Regions from separate parts of the Homo sapiens genome. Here regions 1, 2, 3 and 4 are each linked to region 5. The links are contacts of gene promoters, found by promoter capture Hi-C in blood cells and fetal thymus (Javierre and others, 2016). All regions are on one chromosome and are shown on one strand. The core of a region is centred on a gene start or on the middle of the fragment in contact, and the rest is flanking DNA. Distances in the headings are between cores, read along the strand shown.

Evidence for each region. Contacts are between HindIII fragments. The CHiCAGO score rates a contact against its expected background, and 5 or more counts as called.
Region 1: a contact is called between a fragment that was not itself captured here and the fragment with the promoter of OR14C36 in region 5, in 4 of 17 cell types (non-activated CD4 T cells, naive CD4 T cells, naive CD8 T cells and 1 more). The highest score is 7.2, in non-activated CD4 T cells.
Region 2: a fragment that was not itself captured here is called in contact with the fragment with the promoter of OR14C36 in region 5 in 3 of 17 cell types (naive CD4 T cells, naive CD8 T cells and total CD4 T cells); the score reaches 7.0 in naive CD4 T cells.
Region 3: a fragment that was not itself captured here is called in contact with the fragment with the promoter of OR14C36 in region 5 in 1 of 17 cell types (naive CD4 T cells); the score reaches 6.7 in naive CD4 T cells.
Region 4: a contact is called between a fragment that was not itself captured here and the fragment with the promoter of OR14C36 in region 5, in 1 of 17 cell types (naive CD4 T cells). The highest score is 5.2, in naive CD4 T cells.

Annotation. Positions count from the first base shown.
Region 1 is chr1:248,785,465-248,789,559 of GRCh38, reverse strand. No RefSeq gene overlaps it. Among named protein-coding and RNA genes, the nearest start is that of LYPD8, 32 kb to the right of the region's middle. The HindIII fragment of the contact is 1,224 bases long and covers 1,943-3,166 here.
Region 2 is chr1:248,702,747-248,707,224 of GRCh38, reverse strand. OR14I1 (olfactory receptor family 14 subfamily I member 1) reads left to right here and starts at 4,459. Exons shown (of 5, transcript NM_001004734.4): 1 at 4,459-4,478. The HindIII fragment of the contact is 9,630 bases long and covers 1-4,478 here.
Region 3 is chr1:248,684,213-248,688,605 of GRCh38, reverse strand. It overlaps OR14I1 (olfactory receptor family 14 subfamily I member 1), which reads left to right. Exons shown (of 5, transcript NM_001004734.4): 4 at 3,040-3,154. Among named protein-coding and RNA genes, the nearest start is that of OR14I1, 16 kb to the left of the region's middle. RefSeq lists an enhancer at 1,619-1,818. The HindIII fragment of the contact is 2,919 bases long and covers 893-3,811 here.
Region 4 is chr1:248,614,201-248,618,718 of GRCh38, reverse strand. No RefSeq gene overlaps it. Among named protein-coding and RNA genes, the nearest start is that of OR2T11, 19 kb to the left of the region's middle. The HindIII fragment of the contact is 5,034 bases long and covers 131-4,518 here.
Region 5 is chr1:248,346,297-248,350,516 of GRCh38, reverse strand. It overlaps OR14C36 (olfactory receptor family 14 subfamily C member 36), which reads right to left and starts at 1,742. Exons shown (of 1, transcript NM_001001918.1): 1 at 804-1,742. The coding sequence starts at 1,742. The coding sequence ends at 804. The HindIII fragment of the contact is 2,948 bases long and covers 1-1,759 here.

The sequences.
Region 1 (4,095 bases), core at 1,305-3,804, 440 kb before region 5:
GAGGATTGCTTGAGGCCAGGACTTTGAAACCAGCTGAGCAACATAGCAAGAACCTGTCTGTACAACAACAACAACAAAATTAGCCAGGTGTGGTGGTGTACACCTATAGTCCCAGCTACTCAGGAGACTGAGGTGGGAGAATTGCTTGAGCCCAAGGAGTTCAAGGCTGCAGTGAGCCATAATTGCACCACTGCACTCCAGCCTGGGCAACAGAGTGAGACCCTGTCTCAATAAAATGAAATAAAATTATAATTGCAATTAATAGCCAATTGAGATCTTCAGACTAATGTGTTGTAATTTTTGACCCTTTCTCATTTCTGGCTAAGCAAATGTGGGCCACAGGATGACACCTCATCCCTGGTCCTCCAAGTTGGGGCTGTTCAATTCCTACCTCTTGAGCTAAACCAAAGAAAAGCTGGGACTCAGGTTTGAGATCCTCATGCTTGGTCTGGTGGCTTCTCCACGCACAACATCTGCCTCTTCCTTTTCCCTCCGGGCTCCTGGAAGAGGGAGTTCCATAGACCAGGGGCCCTTAACCCCATCTGAATTTCACTCATTTTTCAAGTCTCAGGTTTGGACTATCCCTAACATGTCAGTGCTTCTGGCTACAAGCTCTATGGAAGTGATGGGTGGGAGCATCGTAGCAGCAGCAGCTGACACTTATTCAGAACAAGTCATGCCACATACTGTTCTAGGTGCTTAGAGCTCAGGCACTTTGGCTTTAGAATCTGCATAAGAAAACTGTAAGCGTTCATACTTCCCTTATGCACAAGTTCTTACAAGGAGCATAGCAGATATTGATGGGTCCATGAGGAACCTGAAGTCTGACGGGGAGCTGCGCAGCTGGTGCCTTTCTCTAGGATGGGCTCTACCATGGGCACCACTCTATGCTCAGCCTGATTCTCTCCCATCCAGGTTCCTTCCTGGCCGCTTGAGCTTTGACCTGTTATTTTGCACCCATTTTATGTGTTCAGGAAGGGCAGAATTTTGATGAATTGGTCAGCTGCTAGCTATATAAATGGGTGTCATAAATGGGGATTGAGTATGTTTGCAGAGTCTTTATTTCCTCCTTCACCTTTGCATGATACAGGTCTGTCCTTGAAAGACATGCAAACACCATCTGTCCCTGGTGAACATGGGCAAGAACCCTCAGACACTCCATGAGGCCCTGTTATCCTGGGTGGGTGGCTGCTAGGGGCTGTGAAAGCGGTGGGTGATCCCAGGCTGGGGGCTGGATGACTAACACCCTCACATCTCTTCATCTCTTTGACCTGCGTCTATCCATATGTTATTAAGGGTGGGTAGCAATAAAACTTCTTGCCTGGGATGACAGTGATTAAGGAACAGCTTTGCCCCTGCCCAGGCTTCTCTTCCTTCCTGCCATTTTCTTTAGAAGGAGAAAATTGGATGTGCCACCCTTCACCATTCTAACCTTTCTCAAAAGACCCTTCTGAAGAAAATTATCCATGAACAGCCCAGAAGATTAGGACATTTGAATGTGCCCCATGTTGATGAATGCACCTGCTCAGTTGTATTCCACATTTGTGTTTCAACTGTTTCCACTCCTGGTCTGTGTCCCACGTCTTGAGGATTTAGAGAGTAGAAACATACCTTTTACTTTTGTGTAAGGTACATGCTGTGGCATAGAACCTTCATGGTCTTTAGCCAGCAGTGTCGATAGCAAGTGAGAGAAAATAGCTGTGTCACATATGTGAGTCAGGATAGGCTAGGTAATGGTGCTATCGCAAGTGACCCCAAGGTGCCAGAAGCTAAAACATTAAATATTTATTTCTTGTTTATGTTATCTGAGTAAGCTGCATTTCTACTCTGTGTCATCTTAACCTGGGACCCAGCTGGTGGAGAAGACTCTGCATGAAGAATCACTAGTTGTCATGTGGAGTGAAAAGGGAGCACCGCAAACCACAGACTATTCCTGAAAGCTTCTGCTACAAAGGGACACACATCACTGCCGCTCACGTTGCACTGATGGGAGCAAGTCATTTGACCATGTCTGACATCAATGAGGCAGGAGGGTATAATGTTCCCCAGGGAGGGTCAGTGTTTCTCTGGATATATTAATATCTTCTCCCAGACCCTGCATGGATACAAGAGCACACTCCTGGATATTCATCTCAGAACTGGGGAGATGGGACAGTGGCCAGGGATGGCAGTTGGTGGGGGTGAGAGCAACAGGCATTAGAGAGAACTAGGAAACCCAGATCAATTGTCATTCAGCTTCAGCCAAATTTTATATGTTTGCTGAGCCTCAGACTTCTTATCTGAAAAAGAGGGGATTGGATTAGACAAGTGTTAATGTTGATGCCAGCGGGAGCTGATTACAAGTATGTGGGAAAACCCAGATCCATTGGGAGGATAACTCAAGATAGCATAACATAACTGAGAACTCTCAGAAACTCTTCTCCATGCCCTCGCCACATGTGACATAGGGGTCCCTCCCCCTAGACCCTGGAATCTCAATCTGTCTTTATACCTCAGCTTATTCTTCACCCTAGCTTGGTGTCCCCTTTCTTCCTTTTCTGCTTCCTCACAACCTGTTTGTATTCTTCCTCAGAGTTGCCACAGCAAGAAGAATATCTTACAGTTTTCTGCACTCATGTCTTATCTTCCCAAATGCCCATATCCTTCTTGAAGGTTATGTCTACGTCTTTGACGTCTTCTCTTGAGCCTCCTGGCCTATTCTTCCCCACCTCTTACCGTACCTTTCACAGAGCTGAACTCAGTTGTAATTATTCAAGCACCAGCTACTGTTTGCATACATTATCTTGTTTAGTTTTCATGACATTGCTGTTAAAATATATTATGTTCCTCATTTACCCTGTAAGTTTTCTGTCAACCCAGTGAAATGTCAAATGTTTAGTACACACAATAAGGGACCAATAAGCAGCAGCTACTATGATTTTTGTTACTATTACTGATGAGGAAACAGATTTGCAAAGGCCGAGCAATATGCACTTGTTGCACAGTTAGTACGTGGGCACTGAGTTTGAATCCATCAGAGTAGTCATCAGAGCTAATCACTAAATGTTTATTTCTTTCCCCTCCTGAATGTATGTTGGATTGCACTTCCCCACCCTCTGTGTGTCGCAAAATGACTTTGACACTAGCTCTGGCAAGAAGTGACATTTGCCACTTTTTAGGGGAAGCTTTAGAAGCCACTTTAGGAGGTTCACCTCATCCTCTTTCTACTGCAGTTGTGAAAATGAACTCATGTGGTAAGGTAAAGCTCTACCAGTCAGAGGTGCTGAGTCATAAGGATGAGCAGGGTGCTTCTGTCAATGCCAATCAGACATGGAGCGTGGGGGAGACATTGTTAGGCCACTGGAACTTAGGGTGTGGAGGTTTCTACGGCAACATAATCTAATCCATGTGACTGATACACCAAGACATGATTGTACAATTATTGACATGTTCTTTTGGAAATCTGTGGCTATTAACTCCCGTCTCATCCACCAATCAGAGCTGATGGATGCGTTCTTTTTTATTTCTGTCAATACTGACCTTTTCATTAACAAAACCCTTTAACAATCAGGTAGTTGTTGTCAACAGGGAGGTGCAATCCCCTGGGAAGTGTTTTGGTGATTTATGGAGGTGTTTTAGCATGATTACAATTATTATTAGTGGCAGTGGTGACTCATGCAATTTCATGGGCAGGAAATAGGGATGCTAGACATCTTGTAACTTTGGGGATGGTCCTGAACAACAAAAGATTGTCCCAATCTTTCACAGACTGTAGAATGTCTAGGTGGACAAAAGTTATAATGATTGGGGCTTAGAACCTAAATCAGTCTTACATACGAATGCAAAGCATCTGGCAACATAGCTTTTGGGCTGAATTTTCCAAGAATGCAGCTACGCATATGTACAGAGAGGATTGACTTTTTTTTATTTTACTTTTTTTACTTTTTTAATTTTTTTGCTCTTGTTTGCTCTGCACAAGATGCCAGCAGAAGGTGCATAATGCAGCTGCAGATGCAGTCACCTGGCTCGGTGAGGGGTGTGCCCCAGACTGTGGTCAGGGGGCTGAACCGAGAACTGACGCCCTCTGCTTCCAGGGTCCTGGGCCATCCCTGTGTG
Region 2 (4,478 bases), core at 95-2,594, 360 kb before region 5:
AAGCAAGTTTAGATCATCAACAGAACAAACTTTTGAGAGAGATTATAGGAATCTTTTTATATGGAACTCTGAACATTATGGATGATGTCCTACTAGATTTTTTTTTTTTTTAAAGACAGGGTCTCATTCTGTTGCTTAGGCTGGGGTGCAGTGGTACAATCATAGCTTACTGTAAACTCAAATTCCTGGGCTCAAACGATCCTCCTGTTTCAGTCTCCCAAGTAGCTAGGATTTCAGGCACACGCCATGATGCCTGACTAATTTTTTATTTTTATGTTTTTGGTAGAGACAGGGTGTCTATGTTGCCCAGGCTGGTCTCAAACTCCTGGCCTCAAGTGATCCTCCTGCCTCGGCTTCCCAAAGCATTGGGATAACAGGTGTGAGCCACACTGCGCTTGGCCCTACAAGAAATTTGACAAAAATGCAGAACCAATCTTCTGTTGCCTCCTGCAGAAAAGAGTACGAAATATAATGTAGACCATTGCTCCAGGTAACTGAACATAATGCAGCGTGCTTGAGGGGCTTAAAGATGAAGGGAGGAACGATTTTCCCTGTCGTAATCTCAGGTAGAGGCTGTTCTTCGCTTTCCACAGACAGAGGCTGATGACCGCAGCTAATTTCTGGCTCCTCATTGCTCTGGCTCTTGGATCCTGAGACAGAGCAGGGACCCCTCTTAGGGGTCTCTGGGTCCCCCAGGCATGGACATAAAAGAAATTCTTGAGTACCTTCAAGGAAAATTCCAGGCACCTAGCTAGCTTAGAAAAGTAAATGAACAATTTGATAAGCAAGAAGGTAATAGTAGTTTAAAACAATAGCCAAAGAAACTAGAGCCAGAAGATGTTTGGCTCCCCATAGAAATTAAAGATAATATCTTAACATATGTTCCTGAGCTAGTTTTCAGAAACCTGGAGCCCCACAAAATGGAACTGCAGACACACAGACCTCAGATAAGGGAGAACTAAGGACTGAACTGTGATTGCCATTAGAAATTTCTTTCTGAGGGGCCTGGAGAAGGTCATACCCATGAGCCAGCACTAATATTCTTTTTTGTTTGATTTTTAAACAAAACTCTTTAACCATTGCAAATCAGAAAATCTTAGAATCTACCCCGACCTGTAAGCCCCACTTCAAGATATCCCACCCGTTTAGGTCAAAACCAATGTGTAACCTCCAGGATTGATTTACAACTTTGCCTGTAGCTTTCCTGAAATTTACCCCTGCTTTTTTTTTTCTTTTTTTTTTAATGGTGTTTCGCTCTTGTTGCCCAGGGTGGAGTGCAATGATATGACCCCGGCTCACCGCAACGTCCGCCTCAATGGTGCGATCTCTGCTCACTGCAACCTCCACCTCCCAGGTTCAAGTGATTTCCTGCCTCAGCCTCCTCCTGAGTAGCTGGGATTGCAGGCGCCGCCACCACAGCTGGCTCTGCCACCACACCCAGCTGATTTTGTATTTTTAGTAAGGATGGGGTATCTCCATGGTGGTCAGGCTGGTCTTGAACTCCCGGCCTCAGCTGATCTGCCCACCTTGGCCTCCCAAAGTGCTGGGATTACAGGCGTGAGCCACCGCGCTGGCCTACCCCGCTTTTAAAAACCATTACCTGCAAGCCACCTCAGAGGTCAGGATTTAAGCATTAGCTTCCTGGTCCTCCTTGCTTGGTGCTCTGCAAATAACTGCCTTCCTTTTTACTGCTGCAAACCTCAGTGTATATATCTGGTCTTACCAGCTGGGTGGGCAGACCCCAGTTCGGGTCAATGACGATCCTTCTCAGAGGTCAGGTCTCTAAGACAAAAGCATGGTGCTCTCCCAACCCCAGGCCTGCCCCCTTTCAAATCTGTGTAGATGACCCATCCAACACTCAGCCCCAAAGGTCCTTTGGTATCTGTGCCTCTTGCCTCCACTCCAGCAAATCCATGTCCAACTTTGACATGGGAACTGTGAAAGGAAAATAAATCTCAGGACTCCGGGCTCACTAAGCAAAAGCGAAAAGTCAAGCTGGGAACTGCATCAGGGAAATTTGTTTCCCATTTTATTCCTAAATAAGATAACCTCAAAGATTAAAAAAAAAAAAGAAAAGAAAAGCTACATACCTCCTTCACAATTTGTACATTAGGAAATTCCTTTACCCTAAAATAGTTCTGCTGAATTTTAGCCTGAAAATGTAAATTGATAGTGTATCTTCACAGGTATGGGACAAAGGGCAGAATTCAAAGTCATTCTTCTGCCCACCTGAGACAAATGCATATCAGATTTCTTCCTCTGTGTTGGGAAAAGCTGAGTGTTGGGAGAAGCTGAGGTGGGGCTTGCATATCTGACATAACGTAAAAGAGCTCTGGAACATGTCCAGGGTTCAGGGTCTAAATCCCCTTGTGGTCTTTGGAACACCAAGCTCTGTGCTAATGGGTGGAAGGCTACCCTGATGCACCATAATCTAAGCCCAGGGCATAAAATCCCTCATGGCTTGGACAGAATCCAGGGCTCGCAGCTCTGGAATGTGTCTAGACTTGCTGGCTCCTTGCTCCTTGCTCCTTGCCCTCCCAGGATCAACAGTACCTTGAGTTAAAAGAACCTGCTCTCCATTTTCTCAAGTAGCAGAGCAGATGCTAAACCATCACAGCTGTAAATCATGTGCTTAATGCAACACGCCCTTTCAGCCTCCACATTCTTACCACCTGTTTCTTTGCTGGATTACCAATAAATAGCACTGGGCTCCCAGAGCTCCGGGCCTTCACAGCCTCCACAATTGTGATGGTCCCGTGGTCCCACTTTACTTCTCCAACTGTCTTTTTCTCAGTCCTTTGACTCTGCCAGACTTTCTCACTCCCGTGACCTGGTGTTGGGTCTGATCACCCCAACATTCTGCCTTATGTTTATATTATATAAAAATGCAGATTAATTGAGCCAGATGAATGCATAAGTGACTATTCCTCTACCTACTTCTCACAAGTGAAGGGCTTATCAAAGACTCGAAAGCATGCCACTGCTTGCCTCCTATTTACCCACACTTTAAAACATTTTTTCCTCTTTCCCCAGTATCTGTCTTTCCCCCTTTAAATTTTGAAGCCCTCACAATCATCTTTGGAGATAAGTACAGACCTGTCTCCTGGATGCATCCTTAACCTTGGCAAAATAAATTTCAGTGCTGACTTTTATTTTGTATTGCCAAATGCAGACTACATGGACAGAGAAAGAAAAATATAACCAACTCTACAAGAAATGACACAAAATAAAAAAGGGAAGAAAAGACACACACATGCCCCATACAGATATGAACAGATAGTGCGAAACAGAGGTAAACAAGACACACAAATACAGACAGGAAGAAGCAGATAAACAAACAAAAAAACAGAGGGATAACATTTTATTAATGAATGTCTCCATCTTGTGGTTATTCATAATGTAGCTACTAATTAAGTCAAGTTTCTTTTTCCATTGTTTATTCATCCATCCACCTTTTCATGCATTCATCCTTCAGTGCAACCGATATTCTTGAGCTCATGCTATATGGCAGGTCCTATTCTAGTGTTGGGGATAAGATAGTGAACAAAGCAGATGAACATCCCTGTCTTTGTACAGCTTTCATTCCAGTTGGGCAGATGGGTGGTAAATTAGGTAAGTATAATGTGTAGTAAATTAGATAAGTATAATGTTAGGTTGCATAATGCTAAGAAGAAAACATAAAGTAGGGAAGGAAATATGAAAGGCTGTTGGAAGATGGAGTTAATATTTTCAGTAGAGTGATCATGGAAGGTCTCACTGAAAGAGTGACTTTTTAGTGAATGCCTGAAGAAAGGGTAGGAGAGAGAAAAGGAGGAAACCTCATGGATATGTAGGGGAAGAGCGATTCAGGAAGAGGAAAAACCCAGTGCAAAGGCTTTGAGTGGGAGTGTGGCTGCTCAAGGAATGGCAAAAAGATCAACTGGGGCTGGAGTGTAGTGAGCAAGGAGGACAGCTGGGAGGTGAGTAAGGAAAAGAGCAAAGAGAGAAAGCAAGAAGGAGAGCATGGAGGACAGCAAGAAGAAGAGGACGAAGGTGAGCAAGGAGGAGAGAAAGAAAAGTGGGCAAAAGAGTAAGGAGATAAGCAAGGAGGTGAGTAAGGAGGAGAACAAGGAGGTGAAGATGGGAGATAAGCAAGGAAAAGAACAGTGAGTTGAGCAAGGAGGTGATCCAGGAGAACATGCAAGGAGGTAAGCAATGAGAATGAGCAAGGAGGTGTGCAACGAGAGTAAGGAGGTAAGCAAGGAGATGAGTAAGGAGAGTAAGGAGGTAAGCAAGGAGGTGAGCAAGGGGGAGAATAAGGAGGTGAGAAAGGAGGGTGAGCAAGAACAGAAAGCATGCAGAATAGCAAGAAGGTAAGCAAGGAGGAGAACAAGTAGATAAGCAATGAGAGTGAGCAAGGAGGTGAGCAAGAAGAAGAACAAGAAGATGAGTAGGAGGATAACCAAGAAGGTGAGCAAGCAGCAGAGCACTAGGAGAAC
Region 3 (4,393 bases), core at 1,103-3,602, 340 kb before region 5:
TGTGATTATAGAGCAAGATTAGAAGTAACCATGGTGAGTCAGGCACACAAAATATTTGTTCTAGTCTTCAGTGGGTTCCACCCACTTAGTATTTTAGTTAAAAGACAGAAGGTGGGTTGGAAAACCACTGATTTAGCAGAATAAATCTCCAAAATACAACTTTTTGGCAGAAAAACTATTTTCACCTGCTTATTTTGAGGACTCTTTGTAAGAGAAATTTACATCCCTAAAGGGAATCTCCATTTGTAAGAAGGTCTACCTCTCTGGACAGAGAACACTGGAAACTCTGATAAGGAAGAAAGCGTTGGCTTAAATCTACAGAAGCCTTGCCTTTAAAGTGCTTTTCCTAGCTGTCTTGCCCTAACTGGGTCTTTACATCTTTCTTTCTTGGTTTGGGCAAATTAAAGCATTTAAGCTGGAAGTCCAAGCTCTGTGCTTTTGAGATATAAATTTTCTACACAGTCTTCTCTAGAGTTTAATAGGTATCTATTTAAAATGCAAGTTTAGGGTAGATAACTCATCAGAAGTAGAAGTAAGAAAAATAGATATTTGGAAACTGAGCAAATAAAAAAACATTAATGATCTTTTTCACAAATATTAGTAAGAAGCTTTAGCCATTTAAGTGGCATTAGCCAAAAACAATTTAGATCCAGATATTCTTTAATAAATTAGTGAGATTTGTATTATTGTACCTGGCACATGGCTAAAAATTTGTAATGTTTCTGTTACATGTCTATCTATATCTGGATGTATGTACATATGTGCAATATTTTTCTACTGCCTTATAGTATTGCCAAAATTAAATAACACCATGTTCAAACAAGACGGATGTCTAGCTGTAGGCAAGCAGGTGATTTTTCTACTTTGCTCCTATGTCTGGCCCATAAAAGCTTGTTCACACTGCTGGGCAGAGCTCTCTGAATTTCTTCTGATCTGTAGTGCGATCTGATAATGAATCATTCTTTGATCAAATAAAGTCTGCTAAGTTTAATTTGTCTTAAGTTTTTATATTAAGACTCACTTTCCTCATTTGAAAAATGAAATGATAAAATATATATCTCCTAAATTTCTGCCAGATTTTTCTATTCACTTCTAATTTTCAAATGATCGTATTTAGTGAGATCTACCCATCCTCTTGGTCTGTGACTGGTTGTGGAACAAATAGATTTGGAGGAAGATGAGAAGCATGATGATTGTCTCCATTAAGCCAATAATTTTCTGAGAGTCTATGTGCAATACAGAAACAGGCTGCTGTAACTGCAAAGTAAACTGAGTATACGCACTTAACTGCTCTCATGTGGCATACTGACTAGGCATAGTGATGAAGTAAAACAATTTATTATTTTCTGAGTACTTAAATGTCTGGGTTTTGTACTTTATCGAAGATTATTTTATGAAATGTGAAAATATAAATCCTTTACTTTTTTCACTGTTTACTCTCCTCACTCTCTTAATGAAAATCTCTATATCTCATGCTCATCACTTCCTCACGGACTCTGAGTTCAGTTGGCACCTACTCCATATTCTGCTTTCTGTTTCAGCAGGTAATTTACAATTTAACCCAGAGGAGGCAGCATCCTCCTGAGACCAGCGTCCCCCAGGCTTCCTTCTGGAAGCCAATCTCCTCCAGACTGTGGCGGCCCAGTCTCTATGGGAAACTAACAGAGAAGATTGTCTCCTTGATATATTATACATCAGGTTTTCTCTATCACTGAGTTTGCATGTTAAATTGGGTCACTTCTTCTGGTGAGACACAGAGGAAAACTTCAGAACTGTTTCTTTATCATCATTGGTCCAGACAGTGAATACATATTGAGAAGCTACATGTTATTTAATCAAGGTATTGCTGGTCTTGTATTTCTCAGATATTTACCCAATAAGGAAATTGAATTTGTCTACATGAGATTTATGTAAGCAATCATTTCAAATTTTTTATGAGAAAAAAATCAAGACATGTTTGCTTAAAGTGATTTAATTGTTCTCTTAGTAATTATGTTTCATATTTTTTTCCAATGAAACAAGCAAACAAAATAGTGCATTCAGTTTGCTTGAATTTTTATCATTTTAATCAGTTTTGGAGAGATCTATTTTTAGTTTGAGACTAGAGTGGAAGCAGCTCATGGTGCAGTGTGTATTGGTTTTGTTCCTCAGTGTTGCTCTTTTGCTTGATATAAGTGGGATAAAGGGCAGCTCTTCAGCATCAGGCCACTCAGAGAAAACTACACTGAAGTAAAAAGGCTTCATATAGATTAGATACAAATGCTCTCAGAGGTGGGGCAGCAGAGGCCATCTTGTTGAGTGTAGTTTTACATTTCAGTAAATTGAAATTAAAATGTATTTGTAGGTTCCCCAACTTAAAACAGCTGTGTCAGAACATGACAAGAATTCAGGTCTCTTTTAATCTTATTACTCATCATACCACATGTGTGAATTTAAAATAGACAGACTTGGAAGCAGGAAATCTTTATACATATTTAATTCAATATGCTTTACGGTTAAAAATAATATATTCAAAATTTTCAACTTATATCTATCAATGATGCACATATGTATATGAAAATGTATTGTGTCTTTTTAACCAATGTGTTAACTACTAAGTTTTTGTTAATAAATGCACATCAATTTGCCTAATATTTTGAATAGGTGTATTGTATATATGCTTATATATCATAATGATAATATGTTTGCATCCCTATAGATTTGTTTTGTATGTCCTCAATTTCAAATTGTAGACAATTTTCAAGGAAAATATTAATTTAATAACTTTTCAATAAACAGTAACTATATATACACACTATATGTACACAAATATATACACAACTATATATACATATATATGTATGTATACATATACACAACTATACATATATATGTATATATATACTATACATGTATATTTATATGTATATATATACACGAACTATATATGCACTATATATACACAACTATATATAAATTATATGATGCTTTTCCTTTAGCAGTGCAGAAATGTGAGTGTTAGAATCAAGGAAAGAGCATTATTATTTTCTCATTCTCTAGATAATACATTACAAGGAATTGGCCACGTGGCAGTTTTGTAGAATTTTACATCTACCGATAGCAAGCTAACCCGGGAGATAGTATACTCCTGTACACTGCTGATTCTGCTGGAAGGGTGGGTAACCTTTTGCCTTGTTTTATGGGACAGCTGCAATTCTTGGTTGTTTGGTTGAGATATTTTAAATACAAACCAATTAACAACCATTTTATTACTTGTTTCATTGAGTTCTATTAAAAAGTCAGAACAAAAACCCAGTTTTAAAAGTTACTCTGCATTGTTAAATAGTATTATAATGGATGTCAAAATATGCAGAATGTAATCACCTGAGTCCCCATTACTTTTTTATTAATGTTTAATCATATTTTTTGAGATTATTACTTTAATATGTGAGGTATTTTATTTAATCTATAATGTCAAAGAAAACAGTGGAAAAAAGAGAGCTTTTTTCACTGAATTTTACAAGCAATTTAAATATATAAAATATAAAAGCAATTTATAACACACAAAAGTATTTCAGTTGCTTCTTTGACATTAATGTATAAATAATATTAAAAATATGAAATATCCAAAATCTAGAAAGAGTATAACAAATGATTTTTAAGAACGAGCACTTAGGCTTATCATTTATTCATATTTTTGTTTGCTTTAATGATCTTAACTGTTAAAATATTACAGATATAATTACTGTTCAATGTTTTCAACTTATTTTTTCCCTCCGCTACCCCATTTATTGGCATTTGTATTCATTCCAGTAACTGTTTTATACAAGCTTATCTGTGTGTGTGTGTATATATATATATATATATATGTATGTGTGTGTATTTATAAATAATGCACTGCACAATTTGAATGTTTAAATGCATATGACTGGGAACATATTTTGTGTAATAGTTTGTGGGGTTTTTTCAAAACTATGTTGAAATGTTCAATATTGATGTAGAGTATCCCATTCAGTTTAACTTCTAGAGAGTGTTCCATTCTGGGATAAAGTAGGGTATGTTATCCATTTTCCTAGTGATGGTAATTAGGGGTTTAAACGTCATGGAGCAAACATCCTCACATATGTCATTTTTTAAAACTCAAGTGTACATTTGTGAGAAGGAGCATTGCTGCATCAAACTTGCGCATCTTCAGTTGTGTTCAAAATTTCCAGTTGACCCTCCAAAGTAGGTAGGCTGCTTACACAGCAAACTAAGCAGCAGCAAAGAGCTTCGTCCCTTCACATGTTTGTCGAGACTTTACTTGCCAGACATATGTTTTCTAAAGCAATGGACACAAAATAGCATCATGTTAAAGTTTTAATTTGCATTTCCATAACTAGTAAAGTTGAACACATTTTGAATTGTTATTGGG
Region 4 (4,518 bases), core at 1,398-3,897, 270 kb before region 5:
TGTATGTTCTTATCTGTCATAGCAGATTAGTCAGTTATCTTTTATAGAAAGAGTTTCTCTAATTACTGCATACTGTATTTCTTCTTATTTTCACTGATTTGTGTGATTTCTGCCTTTTATTTTAGAAGCTTTCCTCAAGTTTTGTAATCCCTGTCTCTCTCCTAATGTTAGTCTCTGGATAAGGACAAGCCTTAACGAGTAGGAGTCACTAAACTATGATGTAAATGACTTATTTTGGAAACCTCAAATGTCAGTATTCCTAGGTATTTTCTTTGGTATGGTCTGCTTCCTCTGCAAATCTTTCTGGGGGCTGCCAGCATTCTGAGAACCCACGTTGGGGAAACGTGCTGGTGTGCTTCACAATGTAGGGTGCAGACTTCCCACTTACACCCACGCAATGTCTGTTTTCCAATCCCAGAGCCCTTTGGGTACACCACCACCTCCCAAGTTAGTGTCGCGTCAGGTCGGGGAGGAAGGGTTGTCTAACTAAAGTGCGTGTATAACAGTTTTTATACAAACTTTTAGCCAAGCCTCCCATTTCAATGTTACCTGTAATATTTAGACAGACCTGATTAGGAGTTCTTCCAGCAGGAATCAACTTGCTTCCGAACTTCTCCACTCACCAGCTCAGTGTTCTGCTTTGAGATTTTTGAGTCAAAAACAGTTTCCTTTGGCTTTCCAGCTTCCAAAACTTTGTTGCTGTTTTTTCTCCCAACATCTTGATTCTTCTGTATTTATGCTTTAAACATAAGAGTCCCTTCACTGAGTGGTAAACACTTATGTTTCAAAAAAGGCCTGAAAATATCTTTTGTTAATTTAATCCTTTTAATTTTTTATTACCATTTTCTTTCAAATTTTTAAGTTTATATTTTAATTGACAATTGTATATATGGTGTACAACCCAATGTTTTAATATGTATATACATATATACACATTTTGGAAAGACAAAATCAAGCTAATCAACATATCAATTACTTCACATCCTATAATTTTTGAGTGGTGGAGTATTTAAAATCTAGCAATTTGAAAATAAATATATAATACGTAGATATAAACTGTAATCATCATGTTATACAATAGATCTAAACTTATTTCTCCTGTCTAACTACCCTTACTTTTGAATGATAGTATAGCTGGGTTTACAATTCGGGATTGGTAGTTTTATTCTAACAGCATTTGTCCTTGAGACGTTCTCTCTTTTTTAAAGTTTTTTTTCCAACTTTTATTTCAGGTTGAGGGGTACATGTGCAGGTTTGTTATATAGGTAAGTTGCATGTCACTGATTATTTCACCACCCAAGTGATAAGCATAGTTCCTGATAGGTAGGTTTTCAGTCCTCACTTTCCTCCCTACACCCTCAAGTAGGCCCGGTGGGGGGGTCTGTTATTCTTTGTGTCCATAGGTACTCTGTTTAGCTCCCACTCATAAGTGAAAATATGTGGTATTTGGTTTTCTGTTTGTGTTAGTTTACTTAGTATAGTGGCCTCTAGCTCCATCAACATTGCCACAAAAAACAAGATCTTGTTTTTTCTGGCTGCATGTATTCCATGATGTATATGTACAGTATTTTCTTGATTCAGTCTACCATTGATGTGCATTTAGGTTGATTCCATTTCTTGGCTATTATGAACGATGCTGTGAAGAACATATGTGTGTGTGTGTGACTTCATGGTAGAATGATTTATATTCCTTTGGGTCAAAAGGTAATTCTACGTTCTTTCAGAAATTGCCAAACTACTTTCACAATGGCTGAACTAATTTACATTCCCAACAGGAGTGTATAAGCATTCCCTATTCTCTGCAACCTAACCAGTATCTGTTATTTTTTTACTTTTTAGTAATAGACACACTGACAGGTGTGAGATGGTATCTCATTGTGGTTTTCATTTGGACTTCTCTAATGGTTAGTGATATTGAGCATTTTTTATATCCTTGTTGCCTGCATGTAAGTCATTTTTGGAAAAGTATCTGTTAATATCCTTTGCCCACTGTGCAAAAGCTGTTTAGTCTAATTAGATCCCATTTGTCAGTTTTCACTTTTGTTGACCTTGCTTGACCTTGCTATTGCCATCTTCACCGTAAAATCTTTTCTGGGTCCTATGTCTAGAATGATATTTCTTAGGTTATTTTCCAGATGTTTTATGGTTTTAGGTTTTACAGTTAAGGGTTTAATCAATCTTGAGTTGACTTTTCTATGTAGTATAAGGAAGGGGTCCAGTTTCAATCTTTTGCATTACGGCTATACAGTTATTTTAGCAACATTTACTGAACACGGAGTTCTTTCCCTATTGCTTGTTTTTGTTCACCTTGTTGAAGATCAGATGGTTTTAGGTGTGTGTCATTATTTCTGGGCTCTCTACTTTGTCCCATTGGTCTATATATCTGTTTTTGTACCAGTACTGTGCTGTTTTGGTTACTGTAGCTCTGTTGCATGATTTAAAGTTGGGTAGTGTGATGCCTCCAGCTTTGTTCTTTTGCTTAGAATTGCCTTGGCTATTTGGGCTCTTTTTTGGTTCCATGTGAATTTTAAAATATTTTTTTCTAATTCTGTGAAGAATTCCATAGGTAGTTTTATATGTGAATAGCACTGAATCTGGAAATTGCCTTGGGCAGGATGACCATTTTCATGGTATTGATTCTTCCTATTCGTGAGCATGTAATGCTTTTCCATTTGTTTCATCTCTCATTTCTTTGAGCAGTGTTTTGTAACTTTCATTGTAGAGATCTTTCACCTCCAGTTAGCTGTATTCCTAGATATTTTATTTTCGTGGCTATTATGAAGGAGATTGCATTCTTGATTTGGCTCTCAGCATGAATGTTAGTGCATAGGAAGGCTACTGAGTTTTGTACCTTGATTTTATATCCTGAAACTTTGCTGAAGTTGTTTATCAGATCAAGGAGCTTTGGGACAGAGACCATGTGGTTTACTAGATATAGTATCATGTTGTCTGCAAGCAGGGATAGTTTGAGGTTTTTTTCTTCCTATTTGGATGTCTTTTATTTCCTTCTCTTGCTGATTGCTCTGGCCAGAACTTCCAATACTATGTTGAATAGGAGTGGTGAGAGAGGGCATCCTTTTCTTGTGCTGGTTTTTAAGGGAAATGCTTCCAGCTTTTGCACATTCAGTATGATCACTGTGGAGTTTTCATAGAAGGCATTTGTTATTTTGAGGTATATTTCTTCAATGACTAGTTTAATTGAGAGTTTTTAACATGGGAGTTAAAATTTATCAAAAGCCTTTTCTGAATCATTGAGATAATCATTTGGTTTTTGTTTTTAATTCTATGTGATGTGATGTTGAACCAACCTTGCATCCCAGGGATGAATCCTACTTTGGTCACGGTGGATAAACTTTTTGATGTGCTGTTAGATTCTATTTGTATTTTGTTGAAGATTTTTGCATCTGTTAATCAAAGATACTGGCCTGAAGTTTTTCTTTTTGTGTGTGTGTCTCTGCCAGGTTTTGAGATCAGGATGATGCTGGCCTTATAGAATAAGTTAGGGAGGGGTCTCTCCTCAATTATTTGGAATACTTTCTGTAGGAATGATATGAGCTCTTCTTTGTACCTCTTGCAGAATTTAGTTATGAATCTGTCTGGTCCTGGACTTTTTGTAGTTGGCAGGCTTTCTATTGTGAATTTAATTTCAGAACTTTTTAATGGTCTGTTCAGGGATTCTGTTTCATCCTGATTCAATGTTGAGAGGTTGTATGTGTCCAGGAATTCATTGATTTCTTCTAGATTCTCTAGCATAAAGCTGTTCATAGTAGTCTGAGGGTTTTCTTTGGTTGGTGTTTCTGTCAGGTTGCTGGTAATGAACTCTTTGACAATCCTGATTGTACTTATTTGTAGCTTCTCTTTTTTCTTAGTCTATCTAGTGGTCTATTTGTCTCTTTATGTTTTTCAAATACCAACTCCTGGATTCGTTGATCTTTCGTATGGTTTTTCACATCTCAATTTCCTCCCATTAAGCTCTGATTTTGATTAGTTCTTTGCTAGTTTTGGAGTTGGTTTGCTTTTGTTTCTCTAGTTCTAAGTGTGTGATGTTAGGTTGTTAATTTTAGGTCTTTCTGACTTTTTCATGTGGATATTTAGTGTTGCAGACTCCTCAACACTTCTTTAGCTACATCCTAGAGATTCTGGTATATTTTACCTTTGTTCTCATTAGTTTCAAATAATTTCTTGATTTCTGCCTTAATTTTGTTGTCTACAAAAAGGTCACCATTAGCATATTTAATTTTCATATAACTTTGTTTTGAGTGATTTTCTTAGTATTGATCTCTATTTATTGCACTGTGGTCCAAGAATATGGTTGGTATAATTAAGTTGCTGAGGATTGTTTTGTGTCCGATTGGTCAATTTTGGAGTATATGCTGTGTACACGTGAGAAGAATGTATATTCTGTTTTGGGGTTCAGAGTTCTGAAGATGTCTATTAGGTCCATTTGGCCAAGTGTTGAGTTTAGGTCTCAAGTCTCTTTGTTAGCTTTTTGCCTCAATACTGTCAGTGGGATGCTGA
Region 5 (4,220 bases), core at 493-2,992:
TTGGCCATCAAAATAAATCTTTCAGATACATGACACCATCACAAAACAAGACAATACTATTAACTCCTCAAAGGCCTTAATGGATGTATGGAGAAGAAGTTGATAATAAATTGGAATATAGGGTGTGAGCCACTTAAAACAGATAATAAAATAAATGTATCCCCAAAGCACTTGAATGCATTTTTAGTAAAATCGTGGGCTGATAAGTATGATGTATCTAGAGCTTTTCTTTAACATAAAAGGGAAGCTATGTAAAGTGTTACTAATCCCCTCATCTATGACCTGACAAATCCACTCATCTTTTCACAGTATGCATTTCACTCATATTCTTATGGTCCTCCAAAAACATACATTTCTCATATTTAACTTTGAATGAATGCACAACTGAATGTTTTCATTTCTTCTATAATACTAAATATGGCTTTTGAAAATTAATTGACACCATTTTTATTTTGGACTTACCAAAAGTTGAAGAGTGGATGAATATAGAACAGAACTTTAACACAAAATACTTTTAAAGATAATATTTTAGGCTTTATGATTTTTTTTAGTGAGTCATTAACTTGAAAACATGTACTATTAGAATTGTCTTCTTCATAACACCAGATTTTTTTACCCAATGGCATATTAAAATTATTCAAAAACTTTTGAAAGGAAATATCGATTTTGATACATGATGCATTTTAGTAGCCTTATTTATTAAATTTACACCAATTTTATCTAATAACCACAATCAATTATTACAACTTATTCCTGAAAACATGAATATCACAAAACAGCCTAGGGTGAGCCTCTCGGGTTTCTTACACATTTTCTGAATAAAAAATTCTCTTCATGATTTTCTTGATGGCCACCTTTATTTGCTTATTTCTAAGACTGTAAATAATAGGGTTAAAGAGGGGAGGCATTATGGAATAAAAACCAGAAAGGATCAGATCCTGGGTGGCTGCAGGTATCGCAGGTGGCCTGAGGTACACAGAAGAGCATGAACTGAGGAAGACTGACACCACCAGGATGTGAGGGATGCAGGTGGAAAAGGCCTTTGTTCTGTCTGCTCCTCTTGGAAACCCGAGCACGGTCGAAAAGATGTGAATGTAAGACCTGATGATAAAGATGAAACAGCCGCCACCTACCCCCAGAGCAGAGACAACAATCATGACCTCATTGCTGAAGGTGTCAGAGCAAGAGAGCTTCAGCAGAGAGGGGATGTCACAGAAGAATTGATGAATAACGTTGGACCGACAGAAGGGCAGCTGGAATGTGCTGCCAGTGTGCATGCCTGCATAGACAAGACCACTGAGTAGGGAGGCCAGTGTCATCTGGATGCAGATTCGAGAGTTCACGATCACAGGGTAGTGAAGTGGCTGGCAGACAGCCACATAGCGGTCATGAGCCATAATGGTGAGAAACAGAAGCTCCACATATACAAAAAAAACCACGAGGAAGACCTGAGCTACACATCCCGCCTTAGAAATGGTGGTGCTGTCCAGTAGGGAATTGACACATGAGGTAGGGACTGTAACAGAAATGTAGCAGGCATCCAAGATAGACAGATTCCTGAGGAAGAAGTACATGGGCATGTGAAGGCTGCTGTCACAGGTGGTGACGGTCACAATGAGGATGTTTCCCATTAGAGTTACCAAATACAACATAAAGAAGGATGCAGAATGTAAAATCTGTAGTGTCCACACATCAGAAAACCTCATGAGGAGAAATTCCATCACGGTGGTTGAATTGGGCATCGGTGGATGATGAAGCTTGGACCTGGGAAACAGAAATCCTGAACACTCACGAAGAATCAAATGATGGAAAGATGGTTCTTAAATATCGTAGTCTTGATCCCTTTCTAGTTGTAATCTACATTGTTGGTCCTTACATTTTTGAAGGCAACTCAAGTGGTCCTCTATGAACCTACATAATATTCTTTATATTCAAATTGGGCAGATGCTTTGTTGTTGTTTCTGTTGTTTAGAAGTTGTTCAAAATTAAATTTTATGCAACTTAGTGTCCTCCATGGGTCAGATAAAGTTATTTACTTATATTTGATATTAAATAAATATTTTAATAAGTTATTTCACTCAAATATACTTATCGCTAATTATTTATCAATACAGATTCTGATACAGAGAACAAAACTGTTCACCCACATCATGAAGATATTGTCTTTATATGCTTAAGAATTGAATGAACAAATGTATGTTCTGGATAGTTTCTTGAGGTTCTTTAGATAGAGGGGAAATACACAATAATTTGTAGTGATTAAAATCCTAGCTTTGATTTTTAGTTAGCTACTTCAAAATACTGGTCTCCATCATAGTGTGAAATGGGCATTTTAGTTACAGGCTTAGTCTCCATTCCTTTATAGAACTCTAAAAAATGTTCTTTCTGTCATAGTGCTTCATCAGGATGAGATAAGATTTATAAAATCCTTAGGAAATTGTCTAGGACATCATGAATGTTCCTTAACTGTCTCTTGTTATTATTTTCAGAAACATCGATATTGTTATTGGTATGTAGGAATATTTTGAGGGCACATACTACTACCAGACATGTTCTAGATAAAATTCACATATCAATTTAAGACTCTCAATAATCCTGAAAGTTAGTATTTTATTCCCTTTTCACAGGAAGCAAAAACCTGTCCAGATTGAACAGCTACTCTTTCACCACAGTCATCCACCTCGTGTGCTTATTCTGTACCAGTTGCATTCAGCAGATAACTTGGAGACTGTGCCCAGTTGAATGACTCTGTCAGTTTTCAAATAACAGGATCAGGAAAAATAACTAGTGGCTACTAGGATTAATACCTGGGTGATGAAATAATCTGTACAACAAACACCCGTGACACAAGTTTACCTATATAACAAACCTGCACATGTACCTCTGCACTTAAAATAAAGGCTAATTTTTAAAAAAAGGGGGAAAAAAGAATGGCTTCATATTTTCATGATGATGAGCTAATGATAATTTTTCCTTATACTTTTATGTTGATGATCCAATTAGAATTTTACCATCTATAAGTTTCATGTATTATTGTATTAGGTAAATACAGTATGTGTCCAAAATATTTTTAAGCAGGACAAATTATCACATGGAAGGTTCAGCAGAACCTTCACTGTAGAAGAGGGAGACAGGAGGCTTGGGCTGTATCACTCCCACTTACCAGCCATGTAAAGTTGGCAACATTCTTCACCCAAGGAAAATTCCCTCCATCTGTAAAAGCAGAATCATGGTGTGTACTACTGTGATCAATTTAAACAATATGGGCTCATTCAGTGACGTAGTCCTTGATTCACTGATTGTTCAATCAATATATACACCTAATGCTGCTATCACAGGAGTTTTGTGAATAAATGAAACAGAATAAGTGCCTAAATCTCATGAAATTTAAATTTTATTAGAAAAGACTGACACTGAACTGTTAAACATGTGAGAAAGAATAAAATATTCCAGAAAGTTTTAAGTGCTTTGACAAAAACTCACAAGGTAATATGCTGGATGAGAAAGGGTGTGTGTGGCTGAGGGAAGAACGGGAGTTGATTAGTTAAGTGGAAGTGCTTGGAAGCCAGCAAACTGCTATGAAAATATAACACATATTGTCACTCTCATTCCAAACTAAGGTTTTCTGTTTGCTTTATGTAAAGAGAAGCACACTGTGTATCTGTTGAGTTGATTTAATAAATTATACTAAACTTGGTATTTCCAAACCAAATAATAATTTGCACTTTTGCTACTCTGACTTGACTTCTCCACACATTAGTTTGAGAGACTGAATTATGAAGCTAGAATAAAACTTAAAACACTGGTTGACATAATAATCTAACCCTGAGAGAACTAAGATTATGACAACAAATAATGCTTTTAAAATTTGATTAATTTTTAGTCTAAAATTTTATTATTCTAAAGATTTTTCTTCTTGCTAGTAAAAGTCTGAATTGGCAAATCTGAAGACTTATGCTGATAGATATATCAATCGATTGATTGTTAGACAGATAATAGATAGACAGATAGATGATAGATAGATAGACAGATAGACAGATACATAAAATTACAAGGGAATCCCTTGTAATATCAATTAGTATACCTTAAAGTTTTGATACTCTGCAAGTATTTTTTTAAGTTTTAACTGGAACACTTTCGAATGAAGCCACAATTTGTTTTATTGAAACATTACCACTATAACTATACTGCTTATAAATCTCTGCATTTATAGAAAATAA